Regions from separate parts of the Homo sapiens genome. Here all the other regions are linked to region 4. The links are contacts of gene promoters, found by promoter capture Hi-C in blood cells and fetal thymus (Javierre and others, 2016). All regions are on one chromosome and are shown on one strand. The core of a region is centred on a gene start or on the middle of the fragment in contact, and the rest is flanking DNA. Distances in the headings are between cores, read along the strand shown.

Region 1 (2,700 bases), core at 100-2,599, 930 kb after region 4:
AAAATGTCCACAATAAAGAGTTACAAATAACGCAAGGGATTACCATGTCTCAGAAGTTTGGAACAGGTTTTTCTGGCTTCCCCATATGCAGGTGCAGTGAGCCTGACTTGCGCTTTCGGTTCTCACACAGCGAGTAGACCTGAGTAGCTGTGCCCTGGCGGACACAGTCAGAGCTCTGCTCTTTTGTTCTCATTCTGTCTTCCTCTGCCTAGGCCTGGTTGTATGCAGCAAGGTCACACAGTTCCCATTCTAGCCTGGGAAATATCATCAATCCCTTTTTTTGGCCTCAGTTCAAAACTGCCTCCTTCAGCACAAATAACCCAGAACTCTTAACTTTGTAAAATAAAACTCATCCTTTGAATTAAATTTAGCTTGGATCTCTGTGATTCTGTTCTATCGGAAGAACCCTAGAGGGCAGACTGTCATCTGCACCCAACCCACAGCTGTGGGAAGCAGATTAGGTAACAGAACGACATAAAAGCTTAATCAAGGGGAGGCATTTTTCGGATAATGGAAAATTATGCATGCTTCCAAGCTGAGGTCAATTATCCAGGGTAATAAAAATATTAAAAACGTGAGAAAGTGAGATTAAGTGTTGGAGCAAGGTCCCTAAGAGAGCAAAATAAAGACCAGAGATAAAGTGCAAGAATTCCTGCCAGAAGGATGATTTGTTTTTCTGTACATTGGTAGGAAGAAGGTAAAAAATAAAAGAAGCTACACAGATGAGTTGAGAAAGACATGAAGGATGTTGAAGTGGCTTTTCTCTGGTGGGTAAACTCTTTTTTTTTTTTTTTTTTTTGAGACGGAGTCTCGCTCTGTCGCTCAGCCTGGAGTGCAGTGGCGCCATCTCGGCTCACTGCAAGCTCCGCCTCCCCGGTTTACGCCATTCTCCTGCCTCAGTCTCCTGAGTAGCTGGGACTACCAGCGCCCGCCACCACGCCCGGCTAATTTTTTGTAATTTTTTGAGACAGGGTTTCACCATGTTAGCCAGGATGGTCTCCATCTCCAGACCTCGTGATCCGCCCGCCTCGGCCTCCCAAAGTGTTGAGATTACAGGCGTGAGCCACTGCACCCTGCCAACTCTTTGGAATAAGAAGGAATAAAGATGAGGAGAGAAAGAAAAGGGGTTTGTGCCCAAGGCTAGAATAACGACAGCAGTGGAATACAGGCAAGTCTGTCTGCACTTTAGTGATAGCCCAGGGGCTGGGCTAGGCATCGGGGAAAAGAAAAAGAGCTAGCAGTTCCAGGTGGACCTCTGAATACTTCTCGATGCTGTACAGCCAGGGCAGATGAGCAAATTGGGGTCCTCTAGTGAAATAGCTTATTCCACATGTTATAGAAAGGCTCAGAAGAAGATGGCTCAGAAGGTAGGGATTGCAAAAAGCACCATTGTCCAGAAAACTTCATGTTCAGATCCATCGGCTTGCTCTTCCTTCTCTCAACTTGCTCTGAAGAGGTTCCTGATGAATATCCTCACTTAAGTCTAAGTCAGATGTCATGTCCTAGAAGAACTGGAACATCAGGAAGAATTTCTATGGTACCCTTCCCTCTGTGTAAGTCAACTATTTCTGCCTTATTCTATAATATTATTGATTCTTAACTTATTTTTGTTCCTAACCATAGAGCAAATAAGTTTCATGTAAATATAATAGTGATAAAACTGCATTTTCACAGAAAAATATGACCAAACAGCCTATTACATAATTATAAATAAGTTTATTAACTGTACCAACATGTTTATGAGGGTTTTAAATATCCAGACCATGTGTTTTCTCAAATATTTATACTTACCGATAATTAAGCACACATACAATTCAAAAATATCTTTAGCTATCACATAGACATATGTTCATTGTAGTCATAAAAGAACAAGGAGTCTAAAGAGAATTAGCGTTTCCTGGAATATTTTCCCACAAAAATCAAAACAGTGTTAGATATGATTGAACACCCAATACATACATGACATCTGAAAGTGACTTCTGTCCTAGAAAGTTTCCCTTCCTTCCCCAGGACATGTTAATAATGATGAATACAATTTGATAATTTTCATACATTCAATAAAAACTTTTTAACAACAATAAAGACATAATACTCCAAATATATTGCAGGTACTAATTTCAACTATTTGCATGGACGTCCTTGGATTATTTCAAGGGTATCTTACTGGCTTGAAGTAATATACAGAACTGGCTAAACCCAGTTTTATAATCTCAAAGTTAAGCTTGAAGGAAACAAATTGTAGAGCTCTGAGATGTAAAAAATAAATATTAAGAAAGATACAAGTAGTGGTTTGAATTGTCTAATGGTTCAATACAAATAGGCCCAGAGTGCAGAGAAGCATGAAATGATGAGTGAAAAGATTGGTTTTCTCCTATCTTGGCACAAATTTACTGAGCAATCTAGGGCAAGGGTAAGAAATTGGTTTCCGTGTATATATAGTAAGTTGGTGGGAACAGATGTTCTCTAAGATGCCTCTGAGTTCCAATAGCTTGTAATACTATGTCTGAATACTTTGCTGATATACATGCATCCCATTCTTATATCTCCCCAGTGGAGGAGCTCAATAAAGGGATTGCAAAGAACTAGAAGCTCTGCCCTGGCTTTGGCACATGATTACTTGAATACACAGTATTTACCAGGAGTTCCATTGAGGGAGACATCCTGAACATCTTAGGATGCTAGGTAAAGTATCAGCAAGTA
Region 2 (2,764 bases), core at 98-2,597, 980 kb after region 4:
CTGAGGGTATGTCCCAGCAACATGCTCAGGAAATGACCTGCTTTCTTCTTCCTGCTTACAGTAAACTGCAAAAGGAGAGAAATAAATCGAGGGAACAACTAGTAAGTGAAATAAAACCAACACTCAGTGATTTGAAAAATTATGTTTATGCAGATTGCAAAAGTTCTAAAATTAGGAGATTTACCATCAGAAAGTGCACTCTGGAGGAGAAACCAAGAGTTTGGCTAGACAACCTTTTGCTAGTGCCTCAGAAGGATGCAAAGATCAGAGCATATAGTCACATCAGGGCTGGTTGAAGAGATTCAAGCATGTGTGACTCATGGGAGCCCTCAGCCATCTCCACAGAACCAAAAATGGAGATGGGGTTATTATTCTATTCCTCATTTGTAGGAGTTTTAATCACAAATTGGAGCCAGAGTTTGTCAAATTCTTTTTCTGCATCTACTGAACTCAGAATCATATGAATTTTCATCTTTATTCTGTTAACATGCTGAATAGCATCTATTTTCAAATGTTATCCTAACATTTCATTCCTGGAATGAACCCCATGATGTATTATTTCTTCTTTTATATTGACTGATTCAATTTGCTAATATTTTGTTAAGGATTTTCACTTGTATGTTCTTGAGTAATATTAACCTATAATTTTCTTTTCTTGCAAGGTTTATTTGTTGTTGTTTGTGTGTTCTTTATATTTTGATATCTGGATGGTACTGGCCTCATTAAATGAGTTGAAAATATTCCTTCTTCCTCTTCTGCTTTCCAAAATAATTTGTGTACAGTTACTATTATTTCTTCTTTAAGTGTTTGATAGAATTCACAGGTGAAATTATATGGACCTGACATTTTCTTTGAGGGAAGGATTTTGATAGCAAATTCAATCTCCTTAATAACATTTTCTGCTTATTTTGTATCAGGTTTGGGAGGTTTTATTTTTCATTTGAGTTTTTAAATTTATTGGCATAAAGTTATTTATATTATTTCTTTATTTTCCTTTCAATCACTGGAGTGATATGCTCTTTCATTCTTCATATTTCTAATTTTTGTTTTCTCTCCTTTCACTTAAAGAGTACTATCTATCAGTTTGGTTAATCTTTTTTTTTTTTTTTTTTTTTTTTTTTTTTTTTTTTTTTTTTTTTTTGAGACAAGTCTCGCTCTGTTGCCCAGCCTGGAGTGCAGTGGCACGATCTCTGCTTACTGCAAGCTCCACCTCCCAGGTTCAAGCCATTCTCCTGCCTCAGCCTCCCGAGTAGCTGGGACTGCAGGCGCCAGCCACCACGCCCGGCTAATTTTTTGTATTTTTAGTAGAGACGGGGTTTCACCGTGTTAGCCAGGATGGTCTCGATCTCCTGACCTCGTGATCCGCCCTCCTCGGCCTCCCAAAGTGTTGGGATTACAGGCGTGAGCCACCGCGCTCGGCCGGAAATCTCTCAATTTTTAGAACCCTATCCACATTTATGGGTGGGAGAGAGACATAGCATCTACCCTGACTTTCTACCTTCTTGGTCATTTGGCCTCTGGGAGATTCTTAAAAGCATTTCTACTCTCTCTCTTATCCTGAAATTTCTAGCCACAGGCCATATTTTGCTAGCATGTTTTGCTTACCTGCATACACATAAAAATGTGTAGCTGTCCAGTGTTTTGAATGGAACTGAGCAAAGCTACATAGCCAGTTTTCCTTTCTTTCTCTCTTTTATATTTTAAGAATTGCTGAGGAGGGCGGTTGTTTTGTTTTGTTTTTGTTTTACTTCCTTGTCAGGTCTGCAAAAAACTCCTTAAAGCCTCAATCCCATTTCCAGAAAATTTAATCACAAAATTAGGCATGTCTGCCCTCTAGTGGCAGGCCTGGTGATTACCATAGAAGCCGAATATTTTGACACCGGTTTTTGATGGAATTACCATCCAATAAGACGGCCACGTCAGATTGTGTTTAACCACCAAGCCATGACCTTTACTTCGTCTCTAATCTTCACTCTACATAAAAAGAACTTTCCTTTTTCTCTGTATCAATGTTTGAATTTATTCGTTTATACTAAATGTATATTACCTTTATGGTAAAAAAAAATATGGAATTAAAAAATATATGTTTATAACAGCCTTGGCCTTTAGGGAGGTAATAGTATGTTTAATGAAACTGTTGTAATAAAGGAGTTTTAATACTGAAAACATAACAGGTCATCACAGAGAGGAAACAATGTGAAACATTAAGTGATTTCTTACACACTTTGAAAATAGGAATAGGGTCCAAGTATTCTCTCTAGACCTGCCACCAACCTGCTTTCTACTAGAGAGCCAAATAAAGATTTTAAATCAGGGAGTAAAAGCCAGGCATAATATCCTTTTTTGGGGGGGAGGGGGATGGAGTCTCGCTCTGTTGCCTGGGCTGGAGTGCAGTGGCGTGATCTTGGCTCACTGCATCCTCCGCCTCCCAGGTTCAAGCAGTTCCCCTGCCTCAACCTTGGGAGTACCTGAGACTACAGGCATGCCACCGTGCCCGGCTAATTTTTGTATTTTTAGTAGAAATGGGGTTTCACTGTGTTGGCAAGGCTGGTCTCGAACGCCTGACCTTGCGTGATCTGCCCATCTCTGGCTCTCAAAGTGCTGGGATTACAGGCAAGAGCCACCACACCCAGCCTATCCTTCATTTTTCAGAGCAGTGTTTCAGATACTTTTGATCCTTGGCTCATTTTGATAAACTTGAAAATCTCAACATCTTCCTTCCCTCCTAGAGAGTCACAGCCACCATCTGGGAAGAGTTTCCTCA
Region 3 (2,700 bases), core at 154-2,653, 950 kb after region 4:
ACGTTTAACTAAAGGCAAATAAGGTCATTATGATCTCAGAGTTATATTCTTTGAAGAAATACATCCATATTTTGTTATTTTATTACATATTTATTTGAAAAGAAAATATTCTCACTCTGTTCTTTCATGACTTCTTTACATTAACCTGAAATTTTTTCATCTCTGTGGTTGTAACCCAGTGATTTCCATTTGGGTGGATAGCAGTGAGTTTGAGAATGTGTAAAGACAGTGTAGAGATGGAAGTGCTGGAAGACTTTCCTCCTGAAAACCAACCTTCCAGGCCAATTATGATAAAAGAACAGCTCAAGGGAAGTCTTGTTTTTTAAATCATGTTCTGTACCCAGTGGCTTTGGGCTTCAGTCACTTTCCTGTTGGGAGAGCTGAGCCCCAGGACAGTGTTCTCTCTGGTCATTATTACCTGGAGTGTGCACTTAACACAGTTCTTTCCACCATAGTCCTATGCACTTATTTAGACCTTGAGCAGGGCCAGCTATATAATTCACAGGTCTTAGTGTTGAAAATTTGAGGATCTTAGTTTAAAAAGCAGGAGAAAACTTCCTTTACAGGTGTTAAAATAAAGCTTTTCTTTTTTTTCCAGTCTTTCTCTTGACCTGCCATGGTGGGGTTTTTTATTTGGTAGGTAATATCATTCTAAGTTAAAGAAAAATTAAAATTTTAAAGTATTTGCATGAAATTTACTGTTGATATAGCGCAATGCCAGTTTTAAATGCAAGTACAAGAGTATTTAACTAGTATGAAGCATCTTCAGAATGATGCAAGTTGACTTTCAAAGCTCACATATGTATGTGTATTCCGTTTTTACCAGGATAATGGAAACACTCACTTTTTCATACACACATACTCTAACAATGCTGTCTCTCTCTTTGGCTTACTGATGAGTCAGAAAGACTGAAAGGAAGATGAACTATGGATTGCCCTATCCTTCCCTAATTCTGCGTCATTGTCAGTATAAGCCATTGGTTTATTCAGGGAAGTAACACAAGACAAGAGGGGACAGAGTTTTTGCACATTAATGTTTCTTAGGATGCCCTTACCTTCTTTCTGCATGTTAGGCAAGTGTTGGTTCAGACAGAAAGCAGGACCTATGGAGACTGTCAATGCCCCTTTTACCCAGATGTAGACCTAACACACTCACCCAGCACTTGCTTTAAGTATCGCTGAACTCTATGGCCTTGTGGGTCCACCAGAATTATCTGCTCACTGGGCATCGTGAATGCTATTTGTAAACAGGGCTGCAAGGAATGATGGTGAACATGCATATTACACATAACTCCTCTGTGACTCACATGCTCCATTGTCCTGTCACATTTCACTTACAAAACACAAGCTCGAAGATAACATGCTTAGGAATTTCAAGACAGCCACAACAGAACATCAAACCAAATGAGGGACCCTGTTAAGCGTGGGACGCTGGGATACTGCTCGGGTAGCACGCCCAGGAAGTCAGACCTGGCCTTCAGTTAGGAAGTCATTTGTTTGACTGTCTTCAGGTGCAACCCTGGAAAAGTTAGCAAAGTTAAGAACATTTTCAGAAGTATCAATTAAAAGGAAGCATTTAAGTCCCTATTTCTTATGTTTATAGCTGACAAGAGACATCAAATATTGGTTTATTTTTATTGAAGTCATCCAGATGGCTTCTGTTATCTCCGGTTCCCCGTTGGATGCCACAGACTGATTCTGTAAGTTATGAATGAGCTGGATGGTTGCCATCTTCTGTTGCAGTTTTTTCTCTGATTGACTGCATGCACACAAGCATCTCAACTCCTTTAGTCTTAGGTGGCACAGCCATCATCCTTTCTTCATTCTGGGTCATTCTAGCTCAGAGCCCTGAGTGATGATATATTTTGGACATTGCATTTGTACATGTGTAATTTCTTAGACACTTTCATCCCAGGTGGGCTCTGTGTACACTGGATGGCTCTCCATCCACAGGGGGACAAATTATAAATAATTATGTCTTAAGAGACAAAAGGGGAATTGAGAAGATCTTTGCAAATTTACCCAAAAGGAGCCATGTGGTCATTCCACAGCATTGTGTACACACACACACACACATACACACACACACATGGTTGGGGGGTGCAGGAAAAAGAGAGGGAGAAAAAAATGAGGAGTAAAAAATAACAGTTTCCCTCCCTGAGGGCTTTGAAATAGCAAATTATCTATTTGCAACTGACATTTTTTTAAGCTGGCTGTGTGTACAATTCAAGCTTTCATTTTATTATATTACTGGAAACCAGGGGTATACTAGGACTTTGCAAATAATCTGTTCTCAGACATAACAGGCCAGTTGACAACCACTCCTTACTTCTTTCACTTTCTTCAAATAATGATCTTGCTGCATATCAGTAGAAATAATCATGGGTAATGTGTACATGTTTCTCTAGTGAGCTGCATTCCTGCCACATGAGTCTTTTTGTGTTCTATGGAGAGCTTAGGAAACAAGCTCTTACCCCTCAGCCATTTTCCTGGGAGCAAGGAATGAAAATTAGACAGGTCTGTGGCATTCAGGAGCATAGTGTGCTGTGTTCCAAGGTTGGAGTAGTAGTGTTCATCCCTCCTCTCCTTGCCCTTGTGGACTGACCCCAGCCACACATGTGTGCAAGGATAAACAAAGGCCAGTCTAGGCTTGCCTCTACTGTTGCTGTCAGTCTCTCTCTCTCTGTTAGTGACCTATGC
Region 4 (2,700 bases), core at 34-2,533:
GATGGAACACTACTCAGCCATAAAAAGGAATCAATTAATGGCATTCACAGCAACCTGGATGAGATTAGAGACTATTATTCTAAGTGAAGTAAGTCAGAAATGGAAAACCAAATATAGTATGTTCTCACTGATATGTGGGAACTAAGCTATGAGGATGCAAAGGCATAAGATTGACACAATGGACTTCGGGGACTCGGGGGAAAGGTTGAGAAGGGAGTGAGGGATAAAAGACTACAAATTGGGTGCAGTGTATATACTGATGGGGTGATGGGTGTACCAAAATCTCAGAAATCACCACTAAAGAACTTACTCATGTAACCAAACACCACCTGTTCCCCAATAAACTATAGAAATGAAAAAAAAAAAGAACTTTTAGCATCAAATACATGAACTTATGTGGAGTCATGGAGTCTCTTTTTAGGGACACACACTGTTGCTGTGGTGAACAGCCATTAAGTCATTGGTGTAAAACTTCATTTTTGCTAAGAGAAAGAACTTTCTAATTTTACTCAACTAGAATACTAAAGGGCAAAATGCAATAGCTACAAGTTTTGTTCTGCAGAGTAAATGACAGGTCATGAACTAATTCCGTTGGAAGAGATACAGGAAAAATATTACCTTGCAGGAAGCTGCCCTCCCCATAGTAAGCCTAGGAGCTGATGGTATGATGTCATCATTACGAAACTAGGTACTTTAAGCACTGTCTGAACAGAACTGCCTACCCCAGTAGAAGCTCTTGCGTTAAGTGCCACGCGTAAATGCTAATACATCCCAACGTATTAAAGCAGGGCAGGGAAGCTTTAAAAATCGTAGGTAAAGTAAGACTGAGGGGGAAAGGAACTGCAAGTGAGTGCTGCACGGGAACCGAGAAGCCGCCCCGGGTCGGGAAGGAAGGAGGTGGTGATGCTCAGGGCCAGAGCGGGGGCGTCTGGAGAACCCGGGTGGGAGCCAGACACCCGCTGCGAGCACGAAGAAAGCGCGGCTGAGGGTGGCAGCGCGCCCACACCCGCCCGGACGAGGGCCCGGCCCGCACCCACCTTGCCTCCAGCAGCAGCGGGGTCTCGGGCCACTTCGCGGCCAAGTGGGCAGTCACCGACTTGGACGCGGCGACCGTCCCGGAGCCGAGCTGCGAAAGCCACAGCGCTGTGGAGCCTAGTAGCAGCCGCACCACGTTCGTGGCTTTCGCTGGCGCCATGGCACGGAGAGAAAAGCGCGAGTCCCTCGGACCCGGTACCCACAGTCTGTGGCCGCCACGCTTCGGCCGGCTCTTCCCGCTGCGCGGCTGCCCACTTCCGGTGGGAGGAGCTCGAGTCCGTTACTGGGTGCCGGGTCCAGACCGGCGCATGCGTGTCCCGCTCCGGCGCGGTTTAGTGGGTGCGGCCTGGAGAGCCCACGCCAGCCGGACACTGGGCCACGTCGGAGCCGCCGGGGCGGCGCCGGGTTGCTGAGCGGCGTCACAGATGCTCCCGCGGGTCCGCTCCCGCGGGTCCATTCCCAGGACTTTGGGTTCTCGGACAGAGGCCTTAGGACACGGGGCGGGAAGCTGGCTCTCCAGACCGAACTAGGGCTCTGGAGTTGCCAAAATCTGGAAGCAAAGTCAGGACCACTTGCATATTGTCCACCTTTTACATAGGAGGAAAATAAGTCCAGTTAAAGTTGAAGTCCCCACCTCACGCAGTTCTCAAGTGTTACTACAGGTTGGAATCACCTGGGAGAGCTTTTATAAGGCCGCCGCCAAGGCCACGCCCCGTACCTGAGAATCTCGGGAGGGGGGGTGAGATGCGGCATCAGTAGTATTAGTTAAAATCCGCAGGCCGGGCGCGGTGGCTCACGCCTGTAATCCCAGCACTTTGGGAGGCCGAGGCGGGCGGATCACGAGGTCAGGAGATCGAGACCATCCTGGCTAAAACGGTGAAACCCCGTCTCTACTAAAAATACAAAAAATTAGCCGGGCGTAGTGGCGGGCGCCTGTAGTCCCAGCTACTTGGGAGGCTGAGGCAGGAGAATGGCGTGAACCCAGGAGGCGGAGCTTGCAGTGAGCCGAGATCCCGCCACTGCACTCCAGCCTGGGCAACAGAGCGAGACTCCGTCTCAAAAAAAAAAAAAAAAAAAAAATCCGCAGGTGATTCCAGTGTCCAATCATGTTAGGAAACCCGTGACTTACGGGTGGCTCTCAAACTTTAACCACTTGCTTGTTAAAACACTGCAGAGTGGTGGGCCTCCCCACAGTGTTTCGGATTCAGTAGAGCCCTTGCGGGGGCCGAGAACTTGCATTTTATTTCTCCCAAGTTCGCAGATAATACTAGTGGCTAGAAATCACACTGGAGCCTTTTCCATTGGAAGGTGTGGTCCAGGGTAGGCTTCAGCTGTGAGCTCAATGGAAATGCAGAAGCTCAGGCCCCGCCCCAGACCTAATGAATCAAGATCTCCAATTTAACGGGAACCACAGGTGATTCCTATGCACAGGAAAGGTGGAGAAGAGTGATTTAGAGGATTACATTTAAAAGTGCACAGAAAAGTGCCAATAAGCCTGAGCATGGTGGCTCACGCCTGTAGTCCCAGCACTTTGGAAGGTCGAGGCGGGAAGGTAGCTTAAGCCGAGGAGGTAGAGGCTGCAGAAAACGGTGATTGCGCCACTGCCCTCCAACCTGGGCGAAAGAGGGAGACCGTGTCTCAAAAAAACAAACAAACAAAAGGCCA
Region 5 (2,700 bases), core at 124-2,623, 910 kb after region 4:
TAATGTAAATTGTTGCGGTAACAATTTGATATCCATATGCCAAATAAGGGCCTTTGACACTTACCTCACACCATGCAAAAAATCAACCCAAAATCGATAATTAAATGTAAGAGCTGATTAAATGTAATTAAATGTAAAAGCTAAAACTGTAAGATTTCTAGAAGAAAACAGTGGAAAATATTTGTGACCATTGACTAGGCAAAGAGATTTCTTACAGGGAAGAAAAAGCACAAACTATACTATCAACTGAACTTTATCAAAATTAAAACCTTTTGCTCTTTAAAAGACATTTTTAGACAAATGAAATATCAAGTTACAAACTGGGAGGAAATATTTGCAAACTATATATCTAATAAAAGACTTATATCCATAATATATAAAGAATACTTAAGATTCAATAATAAAAGACAGATAACCCCTTTATAATTAGGCAAACTTTACAAAAGAAGATACACAAATTGCCAATGTGCATATAAAAAAGATGCAGCATTTTTAGTCATCAGGTAAATGCAAATTACAACAACGTGCTATCACTACACACCCACTGGAATGGCAACATTTAAAAAAAATTACAGTACCACCTGCTGGCAAAGGAATGAAGCAACTAGAATGCTTATTCATTGCTGTTGAGAATGGAAAATTGCACAGCCACCTTGGAAAGCAGTTTGGCAGCTTCTAATAAAACTAAACACACCTTTACCATGTGAACCAGCAATTTTATCTCTAGGTATTTACCCTAAGGAAAATATATAGTCACACAAAGATTTGCACTCAAATATTTATAGAAGATTTATGTATAACAGCCAAAAAGTGGAAACTACCTGTTCCCTTCATATGGTGAAATGTATAAATAAATTCAGTCATTTCTGCACAAATGGAATACTAATCATCAACAAAAAGGAAAGAATCACTGACACAGCAAAAAAAAAAAAAAATTGACAAATCTCTAAAGCTTTATGCTAAGTGGAAGAAGTTCAAAAACAAGATGACACAGTATACCATTATAGAAAATTTTAGAAAATGAAGAGAACAGATCAGAGATCCTCAGGGACTGGATGTGAGGGAAGAGAACTCACAGAAAAAGAGCACGTAGAACTTTTTAGACTGATAAAAAATGTTCTATATCATGATTGTGGTGCTGACTACACAGCTGTGTATATTTTTCAAAACACAATTAATGGTACATTTAAAGTTGATTAATTTTATTGTATGTAAACTATACCAAAGCAAAACTAACTTTTTAACTAATTAATTTGTTGTCTTTCTGCCAACGAAAGCAATGGTCTTCAAGCTCTTCCTGTAAGGGGCCTGATAGGCTTTGTGGTCCATACAGTATCTGTTGCAGGTATACAAGTCTGTAGTTATAGTATCAAAATAGATGATACGTAAGGAAATAAAACATCACTGATGGACAGTTAAATTTAAATGTTGTATAATTTTCATGTGTCAAAAATATTCTTTTGATTGTTTTCCAACCATTTAAAAATGAAAAAATCATTTAGTTCGTGGGCCATATAACAACAGAGAGTAAACTAGATTGGGTTAACGGGCCACAGTTTGCTGACCCCAAGATAGGGAATTCTGTACAACATTGAATAAAAATAACAATAGTGAACATCGTCATTTTGTTTCTGATATTAAGGAAAGGCTGTTGATGATTTACAATTAAGTACTATATTTATTAGAGGTTCCTTGGTAGATAGGTAGGCTAAGGAGGTTCTCTTCTATTTCTAGTTTGCTAAGAGTTTGTATCAAATGTGTATGTCAAATTTATTAATATTTTCCTATTTATTAAGAAGCTTATATTGTTTTCTTGTTTAGTTCATGAATAAGGGGAATTACATAAATTGATTTTAATATTTAACCAATCTTACATTCCTGAAATTGAAAACTCATTTTAGGTATGTTGTATTGTTTTCTGCTAAAAATGCATTATTGATTTAGTTTTTCTTTTTTTCTTTTTTAGGACTTTTTACATCAGTGCCTAAAAATGTGTTTATTTTATTGTATGTAATACAATAAAAACTCGTAAGTTTTTCTTCCTTCTACTGTTCTTTTTCCAGCTTTTGTTAAAAGCTAGCCTATTATCCATGTTTCCATTCATAATATTTTATGGAAAACTGAAATTTGACTCTTTTTGCATCTTTGATAGAAGTTACTTGCATGTTCATATAGACTTAGTGTTTCTTAACTGGAATATCTGAAATTTCTAATTCTATTTCTTTCTTTCTTATAGCTCTGTTCCATTTTTTAAATTTATTCATAAGTTAGTAAGTTGTTTTAAATGTGTCTTAAAATCTACAGACAAAAATCTACCAATGTGTCTATACTCTATATTTGTCTCTTTAAAAGAGCACACATTATACTACTTTTGGTGTAGTCTGAAAGTCTTTATTTTTTAACTGGAACATTTAGTGTTTTTACATTTATTGTGATTACTGACATATTTGTATTTATTCTTCTATCTTATTTTATGGCTTCTGTTTGTTTCTTATGCTTCTGTTTCCCTCCTCTTTCTTGATTTCATTTGGGTTAATTGATATTTATTTATTCATTCATTTATGTATTTATTCATCTTTTAAAACTCTCAGGTAAACAGAATTAGATTAATAATACTCCTTGGTTCATGACAGATTCTCATCACTGGTCTATGCAAAGTCTTCCTTTGCCTAATTTATTTCTTTGCTTGTTTATTAAGAC

The links. Contacts are between HindIII fragments. The CHiCAGO score rates a contact against its expected background, and 5 or more counts as called.
Region 1: a contact is called between a fragment that was not itself captured here and the fragment with the promoter of UGGT2 in region 4, in 2 of 17 cell types (M1 macrophages and M2 macrophages). The highest score is 5.3, in M1 macrophages.
Region 2: a contact is called between a fragment that was not itself captured here and the fragment with the promoter of UGGT2 in region 4, in 1 of 17 cell types (monocytes). The highest score is 6.3, in monocytes.
Region 3: a fragment that was not itself captured here is called in contact with the fragment with the promoter of UGGT2 in region 4 in 1 of 17 cell types (M1 macrophages); the score reaches 6.2 in M1 macrophages.
Region 5: a contact is called between a fragment that was not itself captured here and the fragment with the promoter of UGGT2 in region 4, in 2 of 17 cell types (M2 macrophages and endothelial precursors). The highest score is 6.7, in M2 macrophages.

What each region holds. Positions count from the first base shown.
Region 1 is chr13:96,984,017-96,986,716 of GRCh38, forward strand. OXGR1 (oxoglutarate receptor 1) reads right to left here. Exons shown (of 4, transcript NM_001346194.2): 4 at 1,697-2,700. LINC00359 (long intergenic non-protein coding RNA 359) reads right to left here and starts at 156. Exons shown (of 3, transcript NR_051966.1): 1 at 44-156. RefSeq lists enhancers at 45-94, 135-214, 265-404. The HindIII fragment of the contact is 1,740 bases long and covers 480-2,219 here.
Region 2 is chr13:97,027,065-97,029,828 of GRCh38, forward strand. No RefSeq gene overlaps it. Among named protein-coding and RNA genes, the nearest start is that of OXGR1, 34 kb to the left of the region's middle. The HindIII fragment of the contact is 2,836 bases long and covers 1-2,764 here.
Region 3 is chr13:97,003,384-97,006,083 of GRCh38, forward strand. No RefSeq gene overlaps it. Among named protein-coding and RNA genes, the nearest start is that of OXGR1, 10 kb to the left of the region's middle. The HindIII fragment of the contact is 1,651 bases long and covers 579-2,229 here.
Region 4 is chr13:96,052,118-96,054,817 of GRCh38, forward strand. UGGT2 (UDP-glucose glycoprotein glucosyltransferase 2) reads right to left here and starts at 1,284. Exons shown (of 39, transcript NM_020121.4): 1 at 1,038-1,284. The coding sequence starts at 1,195. RefSeq lists an enhancer at 1,046-1,545. The HindIII fragment of the contact is 2,877 bases long and covers 797-2,700 here.
Region 5 is chr13:96,963,364-96,966,063 of GRCh38, forward strand. All of the region lies in intron 1 of LINC00359 (long intergenic non-protein coding RNA 359), which reads right to left. Among named protein-coding and RNA genes, the nearest start is that of LINC00359, 19 kb to the right of the region's middle. The HindIII fragment of the contact is 847 bases long and covers 951-1,797 here.